Regions from separate parts of the Homo sapiens genome. Here regions 1, 3 and 4 are each linked to region 2. Evidence: promoter capture Hi-C in human tissues and cell types (Jung and others, 2019). All regions are on one chromosome and are shown on one strand. Each heading gives the region's core, a stretch centred on a gene start or on the middle of the fragment in contact. The rest is flanking DNA. Distances are from core to core; before and after follow the strand shown.

Evidence for each region. The method cuts DNA at HindIII sites, captures the fragments that hold promoters and counts their contacts. A contact is called where the count stands out against the background at its distance.
Region 1: a fragment that was not itself captured here is called in contact with the fragment with the promoter of PRRX1 in region 2 in 2 of the 25 tissues and cell types used here (hippocampus and thymus).
Region 3: a fragment that was not itself captured here is called in contact with the fragment with the promoter of PRRX1 in region 2 in 2 of the 25 tissues and cell types used here (adrenal gland and bladder).
Region 4: a contact is called between a fragment that was not itself captured here and the fragment with the promoter of PRRX1 in region 2, in 1 of the 25 tissues and cell types used here (stomach).

The regions. Positions count from the first base shown.
Region 1 is chr1:170,365,690-170,371,234 of GRCh38, forward strand. It overlaps the pseudogene HAUS4P1. Among named protein-coding and RNA genes, the nearest start is that of LINC01142, 84 kb to the left of the region's middle. The HindIII fragment of the contact is 8,294 bases long and covers 1-5,437 here.
Region 2 is chr1:170,661,520-170,667,384 of GRCh38, forward strand. PRRX1 (paired related homeobox 1) reads left to right here and starts at 2,612. Exons shown (of 4, transcript NM_022716.4): 1 at 2,612-2,940. The coding sequence starts at 2,700. RefSeq lists enhancers at 1,517-2,044, 3,245-4,105. The HindIII fragment of the contact is 17,405 bases long and covers 1-5,865 here.
Region 3 is chr1:170,323,611-170,329,370 of GRCh38, forward strand. No RefSeq gene overlaps it. Among named protein-coding and RNA genes, the nearest start is that of LINC01142, 42 kb to the left of the region's middle. The HindIII fragment of the contact is 4,115 bases long and covers 2,003-5,760 here.
Region 4 is chr1:170,202,616-170,208,248 of GRCh38, forward strand. All of the region lies in intron 1 of LINC01681 (long intergenic non-protein coding RNA 1681), which reads left to right. Among named protein-coding and RNA genes, the nearest start is that of LINC01681, 31 kb to the left of the region's middle. The HindIII fragment of the contact is 7,588 bases long and covers 1-5,044 here.

The sequences.
Region 1 (5,545 bases), core at 41-2,540, 300 kb before region 2:
TTAGTCTGATGGGTGTTCTTTAAAAGGTATAGATGTGGGCTGGGTGTGGTGGTGCTCACGCCTATAACCCCAGCGCTTTGGGAGGTTGAGGCAGGTGGATCGCAGGGTCAGGAGTTCAAGACCAGCCTGGCAAACACAGTGAAACCCCATCTCTACTAAAAATACAATAAATTAGCCAGGTGTGGTGGTGTGCACTTGTAATCCCAGCTACTTGGGAGGCTGAGGCAGGAGAGTCACATGAGCCTAGGAAGTGGAGGTTGCAGTAAGCCGAGATCGCCCCATTGCACTTCAGCCCAGGCGACAGTGTAAGACTCCCATCTCAAAAAAAAAAAAAAAAGGTGTAGATGCTTTTCTGTTACATTTTAAAGACTCCTCTCTTTGTCTTTGGTTGTAGACAGTTTGCCCACAATGTACTATCAAGAAGAACTTTTTGCATTGTATTCATTTGAGGATCTTTGAGCTTCCTGTATCTGGTTATCTAAGTTTCTTGCTAGACTTGGGAAGTTTTCATCTAGCATTTTGTTAAATAGGTTTTCTAATCTTTCCTTTCTCTCTTTGCCCTCAGGGACACTGATAATTCAAATATTCCATTACTTTGTGTTGTCCCAAATGTCACAAAGGCTTTGCTCATTCTTTTTTATTTTATCTTTACCTTTTTCTGACTGGATTATTTCAAAAGACCAGTCTTCAAGTTCTGAGATTTTTTCTTCTGCTTGGTCTCATCTATTTTTGAAGCTTTCACACATATTTTGCATTTTAGTAAATGAATTATTCAGTTTCAGAATTTCTGTTCGATTCTTTTTTAAAATAGTTATCTTTCTGGCAATTTTTTTTTATGACCTGAATCATTTTTCTGATTCCTCTAAATTTTTTTTTCAGAATTCTCTTGTGTCTCATTGAGCTTCTTTAAAATCGGTATTTTGCATCTTTATTTGGGATTTTGTTTCTTTAATTGGGATCTGCTGCTGGAAAATTATTGAGTTCCTTTGGAGGTGTTGTATTTCCTTACTTGTTCATGTTTCCTGCATCCTTACATTGATATCTGCACATTTGGTGTAACAGACACTTCTTTCAAGTTTTTTAATTTGATTTCATGGGGCAGAACTTTTCCTGAAGATGTATATCTGTTTGCAGTTGAGTAGGTCACTCTGGCTTTGATATTGGGTGTATGCAGTAAGGTAGTCTCTGTGTGATTTCTTCATCTGTGAACAGGGTCAGTGGTATTTGTGATTTCCTTAGTGGCTTAGGGTGTAGTTGTTAGTGGAGGCTATGATGAAGTTTTTATGGGTTCTAAGATGCCTGGTGGGCCAGTCTTCAGGCCCCAGTGGTGGTAACAGTGGGTTGAGCATACCTGTCCTTGAGCCTCAGAGTGATGTATGCTGCCACTGGTATTAGCAGGTCCAGGTAGGCCAGTAGTGGCAGCTGTGGGCAAGGCATGCGGGTGGGTTCTTAGGTCTCCAGGCAGTGGTGTGATGTGGGTGACGGCAGGAGCAGTGGTGGAGCAACCCACTGGACCCCAGGTAGTCCATTCTGGTATTGGTGGTGGTTGTGATAAGTTGGGTGGGCCAGTCTGCTGACCTGCAGGTGGCTCATGTGGGTGACTGCCAGCTGTGGTGGTATCAACAGGTTGGGTCAGCCCAGCTTCAGACTCCAAGAGGAATGTTCAGGTACCATTGGTGATGAACTGGGCTGAGAGACCCCCAGGCCCCTAAATGGCATGCTAGAGTAGTAGGGAAATGGGACTGAGTTGATAACTTTGTCCTCAGGTTCCCTGGAAGTGTGTTCAGGCAGTGGCTGTGATAGGCAGGGGCAGATGGTTCCTAGGCTGCTGGCAGAATTGTCAGGTTTGGGCAGCAGTGGCTGCACTGCAGGCTGCCTCCAGGGAGGGCAAGGCCACTCTCAGTGGGAGCAGCTAAAGCAGTAAGCTGTGGAGCTTGCAGTTTGCTCACACCTTGGTCTCTTAGCAGCCTATAGCAGTGGCAGTGGTATTTGTCCTCGGGGCTTGTTAAAGTGCCCAGCTTTCTCTCTCCTTCTTTGGCCTGGTGGCCCCAGGGAAGATCACAGTGCTTTGGAGGCTGGGCTGTCAAAATGGCACTGGCTGTGGGCCTGCTACCAGGGAGGGCAGTGCCACTCTCAGTGGGAGCAGCACGGGCAGACAGCTGTGGTGTGTACAGTTTCTTCACATCTTGGCCCCACAATAGTCTGCAGTAGTGGTGGGATTTGTCCTCGGAAGAAAGTACCCATCCTCCTCTTGTTCTCCTTGGCCCAGTGGCAGCTATGGCAGTGATGGTCCCAGGGTAGGACAAAGTCCTCTGGGGGCTGAGCTCTCAGAATGATACAATGTTACAGTTGCACAAGGCTCAGAAGCCTGTGGGACTCAGCCTAAGTTCCCTTTCTGAAACAATGCCTTTGTACAATCTCTAGGCAGCTCCCTATGTTAGTCTTGATGCTCATGAGGGTTGAGGGGCTCTCCAGTGCCTAGAATTGAAGTTCATGACAAGAATTTGGAGCCCCGAAGGTCTCACTGACCATTTCCCTGCATCTGAGAGCTTCTCCCAACTCCCAGGCAATCTTGGCTGAGCAGGCTGCCTCACTTCCCTCTCCTTCTTTGTTTTCAGTGCTTCCTGTCACTTCTCTGTTGAATTCCAGTGTCCTTTCTTAGATTTGTGATTATCTGCTTCCTGGTAGAGAAGAAGGACCTATTTTGGTCCTTCTCTGTGGAAGGGGCTCATACTAGCTGCATCTGGTCAGCTATCTTGCCTCTGTCTCTCCTAGTGATTTTTGACAAAAGTGCCAAGGTATTTCAATGGGGAATGTATTCATTAATCAACAAATGGTATAATCAAAAAGTGAACATTGACCCTTTCTTTCACCATACAGAAAAATTAACTCAAAATGCATCATAGACCTAAATGTAAGTGTGAAAAACAAAACATTTCTGGAAGAATATGCAAGAAAAATCTTTGGGACCTCTAGCTAGACAAAGATATCTTAGATTGGACACATGCTCACAAACACACACACGATATAGAAATAATAGACACATTGAACTTTATCAAATATAAAACATTTGCCTTTTAAAAAACAACATTTAGAAAATAAAAAGGCAGGCCATGGACTGAAAGAAAATATTTTCAAAAGCTATATCTGATACTGAACTTATACAAAATACATAAAGAACGCTTAATTTCAATTGTAAAGACAACATTTTTAAAATAAACAAAACACTTTTTAAGATATAATATCATAACTTTATTCAGGAGATAATCAAATATACAGGGCTGACACAGACAAACAGCCATGCATAAAAATTATATAAATCTGCTTGCTAGATTTTCCAGAAGAGGCCCAGTCATTATAAACAAGAAAGAAAAACCAGGAGGGTGCCTAAACGACTGCAGTCTTTCAAGCAAGTGCAAACGTTCCCACACTCCCTTGTAGCGAAGGCAGCCCCAGGTGAACGTGGTCCTACTAGCAGGAAGATTAGGAGGCAGCAGCTGTGCAGAAGCCATGCTTCCTGGCCCTGCCAGAGATCAACAGTAGGCCTTGTTGAACTCCTGGAGGGCCCACCGCTTCTCAGTTGCCTGCTTGAGTAGGGTGGACTCTTTTCACCAGTCTGTCAAACTCCTCCCCAAGTATTTCATAGGAGTTCAGGACCTGTCTTGACTTCTCCATGTGCTGCTCCCGTAGGTGAATCGCTCCCTCCAAACGGTCCCTAATCGGACAATGAACTTCCACTTTCTCAGCAGTGTGTTGGACAAAATATTTAACTCTTCCATCCTCAGCTTAAGTATCATAGCACCACACTTGACTTCCAGGTACTGGGCATTGATGTGGTCTAACTCGGAGTGAGTCTTCAGCCGTTGTTCCTGAAGAAGCCTCTGCAGCAAAATGAGGCAGCAGAGAAGCACCTGGAAGTAGGTGGCACTCTTCTTCTCCAGCAGCACCATCTGCTCCTTTTGCTGGCTCTTGGCATCCTGGCACTGCTGCTTCCTAGCCACTAGGACCTCTGCAAGTTTCAACACGTTTGCTGCCTTTACGGTTTCACTGTCAGCATCTGAATTGGGATCATAGTACCAGAGCAGAGTGAAACATTTCTTCTTGAGCTACTCCTCCACTTCTTGCTGTAGCAGAGCCCTCATCCACACAAAATCGTCTGAGAGTGGCATGGATTCCAGAAGGTCCGCTTTCTCCAGCTCTAGCAGTGAAGGTATCTCCCTCTCCTGGCTAGGACCTAAGAGCCATGTCAGTTCAGTTATGAGTAGCCGCTGTTCAAGGGTCTCATGAAATTTTTGTCCTCAGAAGTTAAATTTGTGTCCTGTATCTTCACACAGTAGTCCACAAGCAACTCCTGAATAACTCCATGTAAAATCTCAGACCTCAACCACGTTGTCTTATGCAGTCGAACTTCCTTCCATGCCTTGTTGAAGTATTTCCATCCCTTCTCCAGGTGAGCAGAAATCCCCAAATACCTTTTGATTTTCTTGGGATTCTAATACTGGGGCAGGTGAAGCTCTCAAGGGGGTGCCAAGATCCTCGGCTGGGGCAGGCTGGACAGCAGCGTCTGTTTACACCCAGGACCCACCCCACCCCGGGGCTCCGGAACTCGCTCTGGAACCTCTCATTCGGGCCCACCACAGGGGCTAGGGGAAGCGAGGCCCAGGAGGACCGTGCTGGAAGGCCCTCCAGGAAGGGGAAGGGGCAGCAAAACATTTTAATAGACACTTCACCAAAGTAGATATGCAGATAGCAAATAAGCACATTTTTAAATATTCAAGATTATTAGTCATTAGAAAAATGCAAATACCCAACTAGAATGGTAAAATTTCTAAACGCTCACCATTCCAAGTTTTGGCAAGTTATATGGAGGAACGGGAGCTGATATAAATTGCTGGTGGGAATGTAAAATTGTATAGTCATTTCTGGATGTTTAAACACATAAATAGACTATAGAGTTAAACATATTCATACTTACCATACAGCCTAGAAAATCTGCTGTTTGTTTTTACTCGAGAGAAATAAAAGCATAAGTCAACTCAAGACACATACTTAACTGTTTATAGAAGTTTTACTTGTAGCTCCAAACTTGAAACAATTCAAATTTCTACCAATCAGGAATATTTTTAATTAGACATAATTTTATTTTATTTTATTTTTATTTATTTTTTATTATACTTTAAGTTTTAGGGCACATGTGCACAATGTGCAGGTTAGTTACATATGTATACATGTGCCATGTTGGTGTGCTGCACCCATTAACTCATCATTTAACATTAGGTATATCTCCAAATGCTATCCCTCCTCCCTCCCCCCACCCTGCAACAGGCCCCGGTGTGTGATGTTCCCCTTCCTGTGTCCATGTGTTCTCATTGTTCAATTCCCACCTATGAGTGAGAACATGCGGTGTTTGGTTTTTTGTCCTTGCCATAGTTTGCTGAGAATGATGGTTTCCAGCTTCATCCATGTCCCTACAAAGGACATGAACTCATTATTTTTTATGGCTGCATAGTATTGCATGGTGTATATGTGCCACATTTTCTTAATC
Region 2 (5,865 bases), core at 1,362-3,861:
CCCCACGCGCGTCCCTGGCTCAGAAGCGCACAGATGTTTACTGCTTAGAGCCGGTACCGCTGGGGAGATCGAGCGACTTGCGCGGCGCACAGTGCGGCGCTGGCAGGGCTCTGGGCTCCCGGTCGGGGGTTCGAGCGGCCAAGGGATGGGGGTGGGGGCGGGGAGAGTGGGGGGAGGGCGAAAGACCGCCGAGAGGAGGGGGGAGTGGGTGGACTAATGATGAAAAAGTCTCCTCCATCCCAGTTCCTTAATTAAATGCATGGAAAGAACCGAGGCGAGCACATCTGGTTTCAATCTACAGCCCTTTGATGGCATCAAATGTTCTTTTCCCAGATCAGGGCTGGAAGTTCTGGGCTAACTATGGCCGTTTGGAGCCCAGAAACCATTTACACACACTCGTACCCTTCTTTCTCTCCAGTCGAGCCTCTTGACTATAGGACGAAAAAAAAAAAAAGTCTAGCAATCAAGGGAGTGCGGGAGTACGGATGCGTGTGTGTGTGTGTGAGTGCGCGTTTAAAGAACATAAAACGCCACAAATAAGCACTTAATATTTTACTGAGTCGTCATACAGTAACTCATTTCTAATGAGACTGTTAAAGCTGTTACCAAATTCCAACAGGTCATGAAAAAACTGCTCAGCACCTCTCTGTCTTCTGTCAGGTTAGGGCTCCGCAGACGGACGACAGAGGATTATCCGTAGACTTAGATGGGGGTTCCTCCGCCCCTCTCTGTCCTCCTGCCACCACAGCCAGGCTGGACGCAGAACCGCACGGAAGCCTCCCCAACTCCTGCCTCTGGGAGTGCTCCTGCCTGCTTCAAGGAATCTGGGCAGCGGGACCCTCTGGGTTTAGCGTCCTCGCCTGGGGAAGCAACTTTGGCCTTACCGTAGAAGTTACAAAATTGGCGGGGGTAGGGAGAAAGATTATAATATATATTTGGAGTCCTTTCTTCCAGTTTAATAAACACGTACTTTTCTCATTGCCCTAGTCCTGGTATGCCTAATGGCGGGGAAAGCCTCAAATAAACTCGGTGCCCTCTGGATCTCCCCAACCTGCCTTTAGTCCTTGCGAGAGGCGTGAGAGAACTTCCTATTATCATCCCTTTTGTTATTTTTATTACATTATTTAATAGGCTCCCTCTACGGAACCAAAAATAGCCTTAATATGCTTACTTTCTCCCTGTACTCCGCCCCAAACTGTTAGAACAGCAGAAAATTTTTTTTTGGGGGGGGGCGGTTTGGGGGAAGGCAGAAGGAGAAGAAAATTTGATTGTGATGGTGGTGGATTTTTTCCAAATTTCCCCACAGCTGTTATCAAAACATGCAAATGAGATTTTCCAACAGGATCTTAAACAAATCTGGAGGAGTTAATGCCGAAGCAAAATAATCAGCACGTTTGAAGTGACTGTGAGTTTCAGTTTGTCTTTTCTCCCCGTGATATTATTGCAGGGGAATGATAATTAGACCTTTAGAAATCCAAAGGGGCTCTCTTGCTCTCTTCCCTCTCTCATTTCTCTTCTCTCTTTCTCTCTCTCTCTCTCTCCCTTCCTCCCTCCCTCCCTCCCTCTCTCCCTCCCTCTCTCTTGTTCCCTCCCTCTCCCTTTCTCTCTAACTCTGATGTTGGCAAAGGGGGTTTTCTTAATCAGACTGTTTTTTGGTCCCAGGGAAAGGAGGAAGAAGGAGATTGTGATGGAGAAAGGGGGTCTGTGAAACGTCAGGCACAGCACAAAGGCTTTGCCACGTAATTACAGGCTCCTATTAAGTCGAGATCTGCCCTCCCAGGGGTCTCCAATTTTCTTGTATTCCCTACAAAGCCTCCTCTGCATGCCAGTTTGTGCCTTTTGAAGTGCCAGAGAGCTTCTTGATCCAACTGAGAAGGAAAAAGGAGCCCAGCAAGAAGAGGGGGAGAGAGAGAAGGGGAAAGGGGGGAACCCACCAGCACCCTCCGTCGGACTCTTGAAGCCTTTTTTTTTTAATTCTTAATTTTTTTTTTTACTCTTTACAAAAAGTAAAGTGAGAATCCTGCTCTCTAATACATCTGCAAGACATCACCCTCTCCTCCTGAAACTTTAGTCACTCCTGAGAATCCACAGGAGTGCAGAGAGGGGGGAACACGTTTTCTTGAAGATGTTTTAAAGCTGGAACAAGCCTTCTTCTGTTGGTGCTTGAACTCTTGCCTGGGAATAACTTTTTTAACCTTTAAAAAAACCATTCACTTTGATTCTTCTCTCCCACCCCTTCTTCTCTCTTCTTCTGTTTGCCTAACTCCCCCGCCCTGCTGGCCTCCGCTTTCCTCTCTCCCCCTTGTTATTATTTTTAGTCTGTGCGTGTGGACACTTTTGGAGAGTTGGAAGGGATTTTTTTCTCCTGACTTGAACATAGGGTGACTTTTTAATATTGTATTTTACTGTGGATTATCTCTTTGGACCGCGCCGGACTTGGCCTCAGGAAATCAACCAATGCTGCGGAAGGCGGCTGGTGCACAACGCTCTGCTCTACAGAAGGGGGTCCCCCACCCTCTTTTCCAATTTTTTTTTTTTGGCCTTCCTCTCCTTCCCTCCCTCTTCCTCCCTCTCTCTCTCTCTCTCTCCACTACCCCCCTCTTTCTTCCCCACTCGGCTCCTCTCCCCCCTCGCGCCCACAGCGTTTGGTGTTGATTCGAGCGGGAAGAGGGGGGTGGGTGGGATCGGTGGGGGAGACCATGACCTCCAGCTACGGGCACGTTCTGGAGCGGCAACCGGCGCTGGGCGGCCGCTTGGACAGCCCGGGCAACCTCGACACCCTGCAGGCGAAAAAGAACTTCTCCGTCAGTCACCTGCTAGACCTGGAGGAAGCCGGGGACATGGTGGCGGCACAGGCGGATGAGAACGTGGGCGAGGCTGGCCGGAGCCTGCTGGAGTCGCCGGGACTCACCAGCGGCAGCGACACCCCGCAGCAGGACAGTGAGTGAGGGGCGCATGCCCACGGGGGTGTGTGCCCGGGACAGAGGGCGGGGACCCGTGTAGGGCAGCTAGAGCCCGTCCGCGGCCAGAAAGACAAGGTCCTGGGACCAGGAGAGGTGATGGCAGACTTCAAAGGAAGGGCCAGTCACAGGGGAAACCAGATGAGAAAAGCGGGTCTCGGCCGAGGGCATAGCCAAGGAGGACGCTGGAGAGAGGCTCCAAGGTCCGGGGACACTCCGAGGCCCTGCGGTCTCAGGCAGGGACTCTGTCCGCGGCGGACTCTCTTTACTTCGGCTAGGCACCGGCTCGGTTCATCCCGCACGCGGGGCGGCGGGGCTGGGCTGGGAAAAGGTCTTAGCGGGGTGCAAACTCAGAGAGCCAGCGCTGTTTGGGAAAGCAGCAGGTTAAAGATGCTGAGTCGGGTTGGAAGGGCTTCTCTCGGGCAGCGTATGACGGCTTGAGGGAGGGCACCAGGCACAGGGAGCAGGACTTGGCGCTGCTCAGGCTGCACTCTCCACGCGGGCACCGTAAGGCCGGGCGCGACCGGGAGGCCCCGAGAGAACGCCCGGCCCCAGACGCTGGAGCTGCTCTCTGCCCCCTGCTGTTGCCTCTACCGCAAATGGGTTTGAGACTGGCAGAGTCAAAAGCCCGGCTGGCTTGGGAAAACTCGGGCCAAGCAAAGGGAATGTCCTTTAAGGGTGAAACCTGAAATCCAGCCCCGCATGATCCCGCACAGGCGAGCTGCATCCGGGAGGCGCGAGCTTCAGTGCGGAGGCCAGTGTCACCTTAGAGGAGCTCTCCCTATTGGCTCTTAAACGCCCAGAAAAGTCCAGTTTCCCTTCCCCATCCTCACCGACCAACCTCGCGACCCATGAAAATCTCGCTTCGCTAGTGCCTTAAAAAGAGACTGCAATTGTATCCCCATGCCCCCAAGTCTGTAACAGACCGGTCACCCTGTTCATCCCAGGTGACATGTGGCCAGATATGTACAGATACTCCCTCTTCTCCTCGAGGTTGCAAGAGTCTGAACTTAGCTGTAAGTTCTCAAATGAGGCTGGTTGCTTTCTATGTCAGTAGTTGCTGGTTACCATTTTTGTCTTCAAATTTGGAAATCGTGGAACCGGGGGGCCCTCCAGCATTCTATGATTTTCACAAAACGTTGCCTATTTCAGACTCTCAAAGAATAGACATACAAATCAAACTGCACATAGAAACAATTGGAAACAGGGTCCGGGCACAGTGGTGGCCCCGCGGGCCACGCTACAGCAAGCCGCAGAGAGAGCCTCTGGTGTGCTCAAGACGCCTGGTCTTCACCCTGCTTCCTTAGTTCCGGCCTGGGCGCCCCTGGGTGTTTTTAGCCAAAAGCGGCCTAGGGCCGATCCACCCAATGCATTAGCAGACTGCTACAGGAACTGAATGAGGAAGTCTGGCCTGGACACCAGAGAAAGGTGGCCAACTCTGAGGAATGAAGAACCAGGTGTCCTCAAGTTCCGCATAAAGGGCTAGGCGCAGAGACAGAGACGTTCTCTTTAGGGTTTGGGTGCTTGAGAGGCTGCACCCGCAGCATTACTTAAGTGTTTGCATAGGCACTCTTAGTTCTAACAAAATGCACTGAGAAATACTATGATTGTTTTTAAACGTTTTACCAGGGAAAATGAAAAACGAAAAATGTAGGGAGAGTCCAGGCGCGGTGGCTCACGCCTGTAATCCTAGCACTTTGGGAGGCCGAGGCGGGCAGATCACGAGGTCAGGAGTTCGAGACCAGCCTAACCAACGTGGTGAAACCCCTCTCTCCTAAAAATACAAAAATTAGCCGGGCGTAGTGCCGAGCGCCTGTAATCCCGGTTACTCAGCAGGCTGAGGCAGGAGAATCGCTTAAACCCGGGAAGCAGAGGTTGCAGTGAGCCCAGATAGTGCCACTGCACTCCAGTCTGGATGACAGAGTGAGACTCCGTCTCAAAAAAAAAAAAAAAAAAAAAAAGTAGGGAGAACAGCATTTGGTGTAGACCCCAGCTTCACCAATTCTGCACGTCCAGTCGTTTCTGTTTTGCCAGGACGACTTATTAATTGCAACATTTACCACTGTTCGGATACTAGAGGCTGGACCCACAACAGAAAACAGGACCACGAAGAAACTTCTGCTTAGAAGACCAGAGTGGGGCAGGAGAGACTAGATGCTGCTTTGCCCTATGAGGAGGCTGGAGGATGAGAAAACCAGGGCCAAGGCCAGCGGCCTCGGCCAGCCTAGGGAACAAGCCAGCCGTGGTGGCCCTCAGATACTGCAGGGGAAGAGGGATGAAAATTGTACCGGTTGTTTGGCTCTGAGTGGACGCCACTCCCAAGAAGGGAGCTCGGGATTCGTCGTGGCCTTAGAGTGGGTATGGAGCCGGGCTGGCCAGAGGAAGCTAGCTATGGAGCGCCCCCGAGCAGATTCGGAGGCGACGCGCGGTGGCTGGGAGGCTGCCCTGGACTGGGGACAGGCTTCTGTGAGACCTGAGCCTGGCGCCTCAGAGGCCCTGTGGAGCACGTGGAGTCCTCAGGAGCGCTCGAGGACAAGCTCAGCATCCCGGGCGGAATTGGGGACTGTATGTCCCGGGAGAAGGGGAGAAGACTCTAGAAACTCGCCCACGTGATACTCGGGCTCATCTCAGAGTTACAATGACTAGAGAGGCCTTGTGGGGAGAAGACCCAGAAAGGAAACTGAGGCTCAGAAAGAGGATGCTCTGCGGAAGCATGATCAAGAGACAGCTTCCGGAGGAGGCCGCAGAAGGCAGAGTGAGGTGATGGGGACGAAGTGACAGGCACCTGGAGCTAGGAAAGTAGCCGAGAAACACACACGCGCGCGCGCGCGCACACACACACACACACACACACACACTCCAGGCCTTGCTTCCTAGAGAGATGAGGGTAGCGTTCTAACGAATA
Region 3 (5,760 bases), core at 2,810-5,309, 340 kb before region 2:
TTTGAAGTCAGGCAGTGTGATGCCTCCAACTTTGTTCTTTTGTCTTAGGATTGCTTTGGCTATTTGGACTCTATTTGTTTCCATGTGAATTTTAGAATGGGTTTTTCTAATTCTGTGAAAAATGTCATTGGTAATTTGGTAGGAATAGCATTAAATCTGTAAATTGGGGCAGTATGGCCATTTTAATGATATTAATTCATACTATCCATGAGCATGGAATGTTTTTTCATTTGTTTGCATCATCTCTGACTTATTTCAGCCGTGTTTTGTAATTCTTGTTTTAGAGATCTTTCACCTCCCTGGCTGGCTGTATTCCTAGGCATTTTACTCTTTTTGTGGCTATTGTGAATGGGATTGCATTCTTGATTTGGCTCTCAGATTGGACATTATTGACGCATAGAAATGCTACCCGTTTTCGCTGGGCGTGGTAGCTCACACCTGTAATCCTAGCACTTTGGGAGGCCGAGGCACGCAGATCACCTGAGGTCAGGGGTTCGAGATCAGCCTGGCCAACATGTTGAAAGCCCATCTCTACTAAAAATACCAAAAATCAGCCGGGCATAGTGGCGGGTGCCTGTAATCCCAGCTACTCAGGAGGCTGAGACAGGAGAATCGCTTGAACCTGGGAGGCAGAGTTTCCAGTGAGCCGAGATCGTGCCGTTGCACTCCAGCTTGGGCAACAAGAGCGAAACTCCGTCTCAAAAAAGAAAGAAAGAAAGAAAGAAATGCTACTGGTTTTCATGCATTGATTTTTTTATCCTGAAACTTTGCTGAAGTTGTTTATCAGATTGAGAAGCGTGCAGAGACTCTGGAGTTTTCTAGATATAGTATCTTATCATCTTAAAAGAGAGATTGTTCGACTTCCTCTCTTTCTATTTAGATGTCTTTTCTGTCTTTCTCTTGCCTGATTGCTCTAGCTAGGACTTCCAGTACTATGGTGAGTAGGAGTGGTGAGAGTGGGCAAACTTATTTTATTATGAACAAAAGTTTCTTATCAGATTATTATTTATAATTGAGAAAAACTGAGAATTATCTAAATGTTTAAAAATAGGAGATAAATTAAATGAATAGTATATTCACAAAATAGTAAACTATGCCATTGTTTAAAAATAATAATATTTAATGGCATGAAAATATTTATGGTATATTGGTAAGTACAAAAAGCACAGTATAGAACACTGTGATGCTAATTTTGTTATTTTTTTTTAAGGATGACTAAAAGCCTGTACAACACAGTGTCAACTGTAGTATCTCTGGGTGACTTTTATGTACTTTTTCTATTTTCCTATGTTTTTCAAACATTATATATTGAACATACATTATATTACTTTACTAATAAGACAAAATAAGTTATAATATTTCAAATTTCTTTGCATTAAAAACCAGTGTTCACATATGAAATTTGGTTTAAACAACAACATTGACTATCACATGTCATTGGCAACTTTTGGATAAGACACAAAAGCTCATAGAAAAGGCTAAGCCAATAATATTTGTTGAGAATTTACTATGTGCCAGGTATTTTGCCAAGCTTATCTAATTTAATCCTCATATAAACCACCTGAGATAGATGGTGTACAGCCTTTCTTTAATTCCTCTTTATATACTGGAATATAATTCATCCAGAAGATTTTCTCACAAGGGTCTTGTTCAATGTCATTGAAACCACCCTGTATTTTTCAAAATGATGATGATGAGCTGATTCCTGAGGTTGGAACTGAAAATTGTTCTGTGATTGTGAGACATGGCTCTTTGAAAGCATCACAAGCACCATCACAGTGAGGAAACACAAAGACTTCTGGGAAGGAATTAGTTATTGGCACCAGGAATCGATGTCTAAGACAGATGTCCATGACTTCCGTCCAGTCTAGCCTTAAAAACTTGTAAACACATATCTCTATGAAGAACCAGAACCTCTCTGAGGGGAATGTGTATTCGTTCTCCTTCCTTTTGGATCTAATCATTTTACCAAATTACTTGAGAACATGCACCAAAAAACAAAAAGAAGTGTAACTTTTCCTTTAATGGATTAAATAACCAGAAAGTTTGTAAAGTGGAAAAAGTAAGTATGAATTCTATTTTCCCTAAGATCAGAAGTAAAACAATTTAATCTTTTTGAAGAGATCAGATAATTTGGTTTTGGCATTTAAAATTCTCTGTCTCTTTTCTGAGAAAGGATCACTTGATTTTATAAATTCTTTCCTCCATCAATTAAAAATACTCTGATTCTTCCTAGTGATTGAGGTAAAAAACAAGGTTTCATATAGATGTTTTTCTTCTAGTGGCCACAAAAGTAGGGTTTAACATTTAGGGAATGTGTATCTCATCTTTTCTGAAGTTTTATTTATTAACAATGTGTCATTTTTATATTTTATGAAGAATGCTTCCCAAGACAGTGTGGCTGAATATCTCAACTCCAGTTGGATGGGAGTAAAAAGGCCTTTATAATTACAGGGTGGAAAAGTAATGCAAGCTTCATTTAGACAAAGAGTTCTTTGCCCTAGACAACTTCAAAAAGTGACCGAGGGAGGGTCTGGAATTTCATTTAAATGAACATGGTGCCTGTCATTATACTTGACACCTGGGTTTAGTATCCAAATGCTGAATGAAAAAAAAAAAAAAAAAAAAAAAAGCACAGACCACAATAGGACAAGATAGATACCTCTGTATATTGCTCTTCACGCAACACTTTCCTCATTGCCAAGAAGAGTATTATAAATCACTCCCTGATTATTCTTCATATGTTCCCCAGATTGTAGTTCATTTTCCCAAACTTCAACTTATTGCTCTTTGCTGGACTGTAAGACCAGAGTGTGATATTGAAACCAGGCTCAACTTCTTCAGAACTCTACTATTCATATTACTCAGCCTTTGTGGTTGTGCTCAGTGCTAAATCTATGGTTGCTCCACTCCCATTAAAAGCTCCCTGGATTTTGTTTAAGCAGGGTGATATCCTTTGTTACCTCTGAATGGCCTGTGGACAATTTTGGCTAACCCTTGAGAAGTCCACACACTTTGCCTGGTTTGACGTACTTCAGAAGCCATCAAATATAGCACATGTAATGGCTCTGTGACAGGAAGATTCTGAAGCTGGGGACTAGGAATATATGTTGTCCTAATTACTGAGGGATGCTTTTACCTATCAGTATAAGCTCTGAAAGGAAATGGATGTGGCTAAGTGTACATGGATCATTAAGCTTTCTTCCTTCTATAAACTGTGATCTTTCTTCCAATTTTAACTTGAATGTCAGGCAATAGGATCACAGTTCCAAGAAGAAAAAAATGTTTAAGGCCTGGAGAAGGGAACGGTGGGGAAAAGAAGTAACATTTTTAAAAGTCTCTTGAGTTTTAAGTGGAGACACTGAAGGAGGCAGGATCAAAGACATCTTTTCATAATACTGGTAATAATTATTACTGATGATAATTTAAATACTTGATTGTTTCCACTATATTCAAAGGAGACTTGTGGTTTGGTTGTGCCTCCAGAAATTACAGAATATAAAACAAAGTTGGAAAGTTGCACATGGACCAGACTTTGTAAAGGAAAGAAATAGCATTTGAAATTTAAATAGAACTCATAGAAATTATTTTGCAAAGATAATTTATTAGGAGAAGCAGAAAGAACTCTAACCAAAAAAGAATAAGGTGTCACATGTGTTTTTTACGAAACAACATAAAAGGGAGCTTTAATGATGCCTTCCAGAATGCAGTAATAAATATTGGTGATATAATGTAGGGATTGGGCATGATGGGTGGAAGCAGGTAAATAATAAATATTCACTGGACCAGATTCTAGTATAGAGTTGAGTAGGGAGAAGCCAAGTTACAATTTTTGCACAAAGAATACCGTGTTCTCAAAACTCCTTGCCTCCTCCAAAACACTATATCCATTTGAAGAAGGGTTCCAGCCAGAACTCAGTTCTTCCATGCCCCTCATGTCTGACAAGAAGTTCTGCAAAAACATGTCTTGCCAACCTGCACATCACTCATGTCCTGAACTTTCTGGAAATTTAAGCCCTCATTGGGAGAATAGGATGTTTGTTTTAAGTTCCCTCTATAGGCCCATAGGAGTTTATAACTGCCTGTAGCTGGTGCCAGCTATACAGACTGAAGTGTGTAAAGATCAACTATAGATAATTGAGTTAGAGATTGCTAATAATCACTGATGGTTAACAAATCAACAAAAGAATTTATCAAATATCCTTGATATGTAAGGCCAGAGGAATATAAATAAATTTAAGACACAGCTGCATTCAAGAGACCTACAATCTTGTTGTAGGGAGGACATTAGATATTAGTTATTGCTAGGTATTGTTAGTTAATTTTTCATGAATATCAACATGAATTGGATGATCAATAAAAGCCATCAAGTTCAGATAAAGGAGAAATAGATCACCAGGAACTAGAGTGATGACAGTCTTCAGAAAATTTATGAGACCTGAGGAAGGAAGGGAGAGAACAAACATACCTTCACATGTTCTTTTACTTAATCCTCTCACTGAGTATCTGAGGTAGATTTTGTTCTTATTTTACATATGAGAACACGGAAGCCCAGAGATGCTTAGAAACTTGTGAAGGTCACAAAACCAGTAAACAGAAACATCAGGATTTGAACCCAGTTTCAGCTGCATTCATAATCTTATACTCTTTGCACTTTATCATGAAGGATGGATGGATGTGATGGGCTGAGAAGAGGCCAGAGAGCTGATTTAGAAAACATAGGTGCTGATTCACAAAACACAGCATTTGGCATGTGTTTTCTAAAGAAACACCTGCCAGATGATTGAAATTAGTCCAGAAGTTAGCAGCTGTCTCAGTGAAGGAAGAAGGAAAGAAACATGGCAGCCCAACACACGGAAGAAGATGCTATAATTGGAGAGTTTTTAGCTAATTATTTTCCTATTTGGGGTTTCTCCAGAAGCAGACTGAGAGACAAAGATTCAAATGCAAGCAGTATGTAAGGGTCAAACTGGAAAAATTGATAAAAAACTATAGGAGTGAGACAGAAGAGAAGGCAGCAAACACAAGGTCAGATATTAAGACAACGACCACTGTGGATAACAGAAACTTAATCTTACAGGGGAATCTTTGGAAAACGGTGTAGAAAACAAGCCTCAGACTCCTCCGCCCAAGTATTCAGCTCCTACCAGCCATTGGTTAAGAACTGCAGGTGGCAGAGGGTACAGTAGTTATTTCTCTGGTACTGCTTGTCTACCATGTATACAAAGAGACCTTTATCCAAGTCTTGGAGGAAAAGCCCAAGGAGAATGCATAAGATACTGACAGCTGAAGCTCGCTGCCTGAATGACATGGTTAAGGCCCAGGGATATGCACAGGGCATTGATAGCACCTGCTACAAACATCAGTATCTTTGGCGCAGGCTTTGTGATATTCTCTATTATTCTACCCTCTTTGAAGTGTATGAGTATGCAGATCATTGTCTCTCAAACTTCCGAGTGCATAAGGAGCACTTGGGAAGCTTGTTAGCAAACCAGATTCTGGAAACTTACCCATTGAAATTCTGACTCCTATTTCAGGAATGGAGTCCAGGAATTTGCATCATTAATAGGTATCCCAGATGATTCTGACACATAAGGTCTGCGGATCACACAATGAGAGACAATGCCCGGACTGTCCAAGTATTATACAAAAAATATACGAACAAGAGGGAAGCTCTGTTATTCGGTAAAGAGAATGGCTTTTGGATCAAGGTATCCTTGGATTTGAAAGCTGGCTCCATTACTTAGTGATCTTAGGAAA
Region 4 (5,633 bases), core at 1-2,500, 460 kb before region 2:
TGTTATGCTGGTTCACAAGACAAACTTTAAAAGAAAACGAGTGAGGTCTCCTTAGGACCTTTTCCACTGATTGGCCCCTTCTTTGAATGGGGGTTCCTAATAGTCACTGTTTCTCAACCAATAGCATGAAATGCTTGCTTCCAGATCTTGTTTTTAAGTCTTTAGAACAGAGAGGTGATGATAAGTGGGGACTGTAATAAAGCCTCACTAGTGTACTTGATACACTTCCTTTTTTTTTTATTTTTATTTTTTATTTTTTGAGATGGAGTCTCGCTCTGTTGCCCGGGCTGGAGTGCAGTGGCGTGATCTTGGCTCACTGCAACCTCTGCCTCCCAGGTTCAAGCGATTCTCCTGTCTCAGCCTCCCAAGTAGCTGGGATTACAGGCACACACCACCCCTCCCAGCTAGCTTTTTGTATTTTTAGTAGAGACGGGGTTTCACCATGTTGGCCAGGCTGGTTTCGAACTTCTGACCTCAGGTGATCCACTTGCCTTGGCCTCCCAAAGTGCTGGGACTACAGGCGTGAGCCACCGTGCCGGGCCTATTGTACATGATAATCTTATGTGCACTATGAAGTTTGAGAAAAGATAAGAGGCAGGGAATGGGTAGAGATGGTTTCACTAAAGAACTACCTTGGGCCAGGTACTAAATAGTTACTTTTTATATGTTCCTTATTTAAATGTGGCAAAAAACTTTCATTTCAGACTTATCAATGGCTCAGACTTTTTAGAGTTTATTTCCTAGCTGCTAATTTTCTGGATTTGTTATTTAGAGCCTGAACTTAAGAAGCTGAGAAATATGAGTTCAAATCATTCTTGTTTTCTGTGGGTAAGCATTTTAGTGCTTAAAATAGGAGGATTATCAATTTCTCTTCTGTAAAATATAGGAATGGCAACACCTACTTAATGGGATTGATGTGACAAATAACTGAGATATTTTAATCAAGGTGTGAATTACAGTGACTCTTCTATAGTAGATACTCAGTGAGTGAGAGCAGTGGTTATAATCTTTACCTAGACATATGCTTCTGGCCAGGGAGGAGACACCCAGAATCAATCCTGTTGGTATTAAAATTTTTTCTTTAAGATTTTGCAGATAAAAAATAAGGCCATGGTTCATAAAGATTCTGAGCTCAGAGTAATGGACTCATGGGTTCTCACAGAACTAGTGAGGAAAAAATGAAAGGGAAAGTCAGCATACACACACACATGCACACACACCCCACCCCTCAGTCTTTCAGATAGGGTCTGTAACAGTAAGCCAAGGTTCACTTACAGAGTTCCCATAACAAATGAGCATATGGTGAGCATTTGACTGAGGGAAATACACATCCTTTAAGGAAGCTCTTAAGTTCTCACAAATTCAATAAGAATAGAAGAATGTCTTAAAAATCAGAAGACATCAGAGACATAGAGAAACTCTCAGTAGTTTATTCTTTTTTAAAACTTGCAACTTAGAGGTGTATGTCTACATGTAGCCCTCTGAGTTAGGATGCATTCCTCCACACTACAGCCTGGAGAAAACAGATCTGCGTGTCCTTTAATCCATGATCATTGTAGATCAAGTTACCTCTTTGAAAGAACTTTTCTTTCTCTAGCCAACTAAATGAAAAGAAAATGATGTACTTAATTGTTTTCTAAATTGCAATTTTTCTCCCACAGATGTTTTTTATCAGTGTTGAGCCCAATGGGCTTTGTCAGTCACACGGGGAGATGAAATCATGTGGTAATAAAAGAGACGGGGTTGGGGGAGGAAGGGAAATACCATACAGTATATTGTCTAATTGAAAAATGTGCCACATAAATGCTGAACTTGAAATCTTTCCCTCCCCAAGGGCTACTCACAACAAACAATGCACACATCTTCTGCACTGGAAAGATTAGACTTCTCCCCTTTCTCCATTATTAATTCAGGCCAATGCAAGAGTTTCCTTTTTTTTTTTTTTTTTTGCCTTTTTTGGGTTAAGTCGTTCTACTGGAATTGTGATGCAAGGTAACAAGATTCCAAAGTGAAATCTTAAATGCAAAGGTAATGGCATCTGAGCTAGAGGGTGAAGGTTACAGTGATGATGATAAAGGGATAGCATTAGATTAAACTCTAACTTTGTAGAAGGAAGATGAGAACTAGCAACAATATCTATGAATGTATCTGAGAAATGGTTGCTAGTGATAATGCAACCTAAAATGTAGGGGAGGCTAGTAGAATTATGGCACTTGGAAAATTCAGAAAGTCTCAGGCTTCAGTGCATGTTAATGAAAGCTGGAACCATAAGTAGAGTGGATCAGGAAGTACAGACAGAAGGAAAGGCTGCATGTGTTTTTCATAGCAAGAAGGAGAATGCTACAGATGCAGGACCCATGTCAGCATCAGAGAGATTAGAAGACAAAGAGAGACTCATGCTCACAAGCAAACCTAAAGAAGTAAAAGGTTTTCACTTCCCCCTCCCCCAATACTCCATTATGGAAAACAAATGAGAATTGACTGCAGTACAAAAGCGTTGGCCTAGAAAGTCCTCTGAGAGATCTTTCTAGTTCTCCACCTGTATTCATTTGCACTGCCCTTTACCCACACTTGACTGTGCTTTAAATTTTCTGTAGGAAGTGACTTGTAACCAGTGGGATGGTAACTAAGGGGCTTTTATCAGCCCTCACTGTCAAGAGGGCCTCTCTCTTATGTCAGGAAAAAAAGGGGGCTCTTTCCTCTTGTTCTGCCATTATTGAAGAAGGAGAGCATCTAGTGATTATATAAGAAACTCAATGAATCACTTATTTTATTTTTTACTCATTTAATTTAGCTGTGTCTCATATTTGACTAAAACTAACTCCAGGGATTTCTCCAGGTTCTTTGATTGCACTGGAATCTTAATGAGTCATCCATTTCTTTGAAATATGAGGATTATTACCCAAGTGTTATATTCCTTAACTAAATAGTAATTTTTTTGTAGTAATATTTGGAATAGCCAGATTCAAACTGCATAAGAGAGAGTCACCATGTGTAATACCAAAGCTTTCTGGGGAAAAATCACATTGCATTAAGTTGCAGATGATTAGGGTTTTGTCTGGGCTTTAAAACACACTTCAACCTTTCTGTTTCTCAGTGTTCATCCCTGTATTAAAATAAACATCCTCCTCCTCATCATAATTGTCATTGTCATCATCAGCATCATCATCATTTTTCTCTTCCTCTTACTTTCTTGTTCTTCTTACTCTTTTTTCCCTATTCTGTTTTGTCCTTTCTTTCTGTCCCCTACCTCCTTCTCCTCCTTCTTCTTTTTGTTGTCTCTTCTTCCACTTCTTTTCCCCTTTTTTCTTTTGCCTATCCTTCTCCTTCTCTTCATGTTTTCTTTTGTTCTCTTTCGCTTTTCTCCTCCTCTTCCTCACTTCCTTCTTTCCATTTTCTCTATATTTTTTGAGTTTTCACTCTGTGTCAAGGTTTAGTGAAGCCTCTTACTTATGTCATCTCAACACATCTTGGTAATGGACCTAGATATTATTTTCAGAAAAGCAAATGAAGTATCAGAAAGGAATAAGTAATTTATCCATTTACATGCCAAGTAAATATGACTTTGGGTATCTCTAACTCCAAATCCATGCTTTTAGCCAAAACCTCTCTAGGAGAGATGAAAAATATTGGGGGAGAAAGGTTGAAATAATCAAAGTTGTAATTAAACTTTAAATTTATAATTTAAGAGTATGAAACATAACTTTGCATTTGTGAAAATTTGGAAGTTAATTGAGATAAGATAATTAAAATGCTTATGTGATAATATGGTTTGGCTGTGTCCCCATGCAAATCTCATCTTGAATTGTAGTTCCCATAATCCCCACATGTGGTTGGAGGGATCTGGTGGGAGATAATTGAATCATGGGGGTGGTTTCCCCCATGCTATCCTTGTAATAGTGAGTAAGTTCTCACAAGATCTGATGGTTTTATAAGGGGCTTCCCCCTTCGCTGAATTCTCATTCTTCTCCTTCCTGCCTTCTTGTGAAGAAGGATGTCTTTGCTTCCCCTTCTGCCATGTTTGTAAGTTTTCTGAGGCCTCCCCAGCCATGCTGAACTGTGAGTCAGTTAAACATCTTTCCTTTATATAATAAGTTACCCAGTCTCAGTTATGTCCTTATAGCAGCATGAGAGTGCTGCTGTATATATACTAATACAGTAAATTGGTACTGCACAGAGTGGGGTGCTGCTGTAAAAATACCTGAAAATGTAGAAGTGATTTTGGAACTGGGTAACAGGCAGAGGTTGGAATGTTTGGAGGGCTCAGAATAAGACAGGAAAATGTGGGAAAGTTTGAAACTTCCTAGAGACTTGGAGGGCTCAGAAGACAGGAAGATGTGGAAAAGTTTGGAACATCCTAGAGACTTGTTGAATGGCTTCGACAAAAATGCTGATAGTGATATGGACAATGAAGTCCAGGCTGAGGTGGTCTCACATGGAGATGATGAACTTGCTGGGAACTACAGTAAAGGTCACTTTTGCTGTGCAAAGAGACTGGCAGTATTTTGCTCCTGCCTAAAGATCGGTGGGCTTTGAACTTGAGAGAGATGACTTAGGGTACCTGGCAGAAGAAATTTCTAAGTGGCAAAGCATTCAAGAGGAAGCAGAGCATTAAAGTTTGGGAAATTTGCAGCCTAACAATGCAATAGAAAAGGAACCTCATTTTCTGGGGAGAAATTGAAGCTGGCTGCAGAAATTTGCATAAGTTATGAGGAGCTGAATATTAATTACCAAGACAATGGGGAAAATGTCTGCAGGGCATGTCAGAGACCTTCATGGCAGCCCCTCCCATCACAGACCCAGAGGTCTAGGAGGAAAAAATGGTTTTGTGGGCTAGGCCCAGGGCCCACCTGCTCCATGCAGCCTCAGGACTTGGTACCCAGTGTCCCAGCTGCTTCAGCTCCAGCTGTGGCTAAAAGGGGCCAACCTACATCTCAGGCCATTGCTTCAGAGGGTGTAAGCCCCAAGCATTGGCAGTTTACATGTGGTGTTGGGTCTGCAGGTGCATAGAAATCAAGAATTGAGGTTTGGGAACCTCTGTCTATATTTCAGAGGATGTTTGGAAATGCCGGGATGTCCATGCAGAATTTTGCTGCAGGGGTGGAGCTCTTGTAAAGAACCTCTGCTAGAGCAGTGTGGAAGGAAACTGTGGGGTCAGATCCCCCACACAGAGTCCCCACTGGGGCACTACCTAGTGGAGCTGTGAGAAGAAGGCCACCATCCTCCAGACCCCAAAATGATGGATCCACTGACAGCTTGCACCATGCATCTGGAAAAGCTGCAGGTGCTCAATGCCAGCCCATGAAAGCAGCCAGGCTGTAGCCTGCAAAGCTACAGAAGTGGAGCTGCCCAAGGCTATGGGAACCCACCTCTTGCATCAGTGTGACCTGGATTTGAGACATGGTTTCAAAGGAGATCATTTTGGAACTTTAAGGTTTAATGACTGTCTCATTGGAGTTTGGACTTGCATAGGGCCTATAAACCCTTTGTTTTGGCCAATTTCTCCCACTTGGAATGGGTGTATTTACTCAATGCCTGTACCCCCATTGTATCTAAGAAGCAACTAGCTTGCTTTTGTCTTTATAGGCTCATAGGCAGAAGGGACTTGCCTTGTCCCAGATGAGACATTGGAC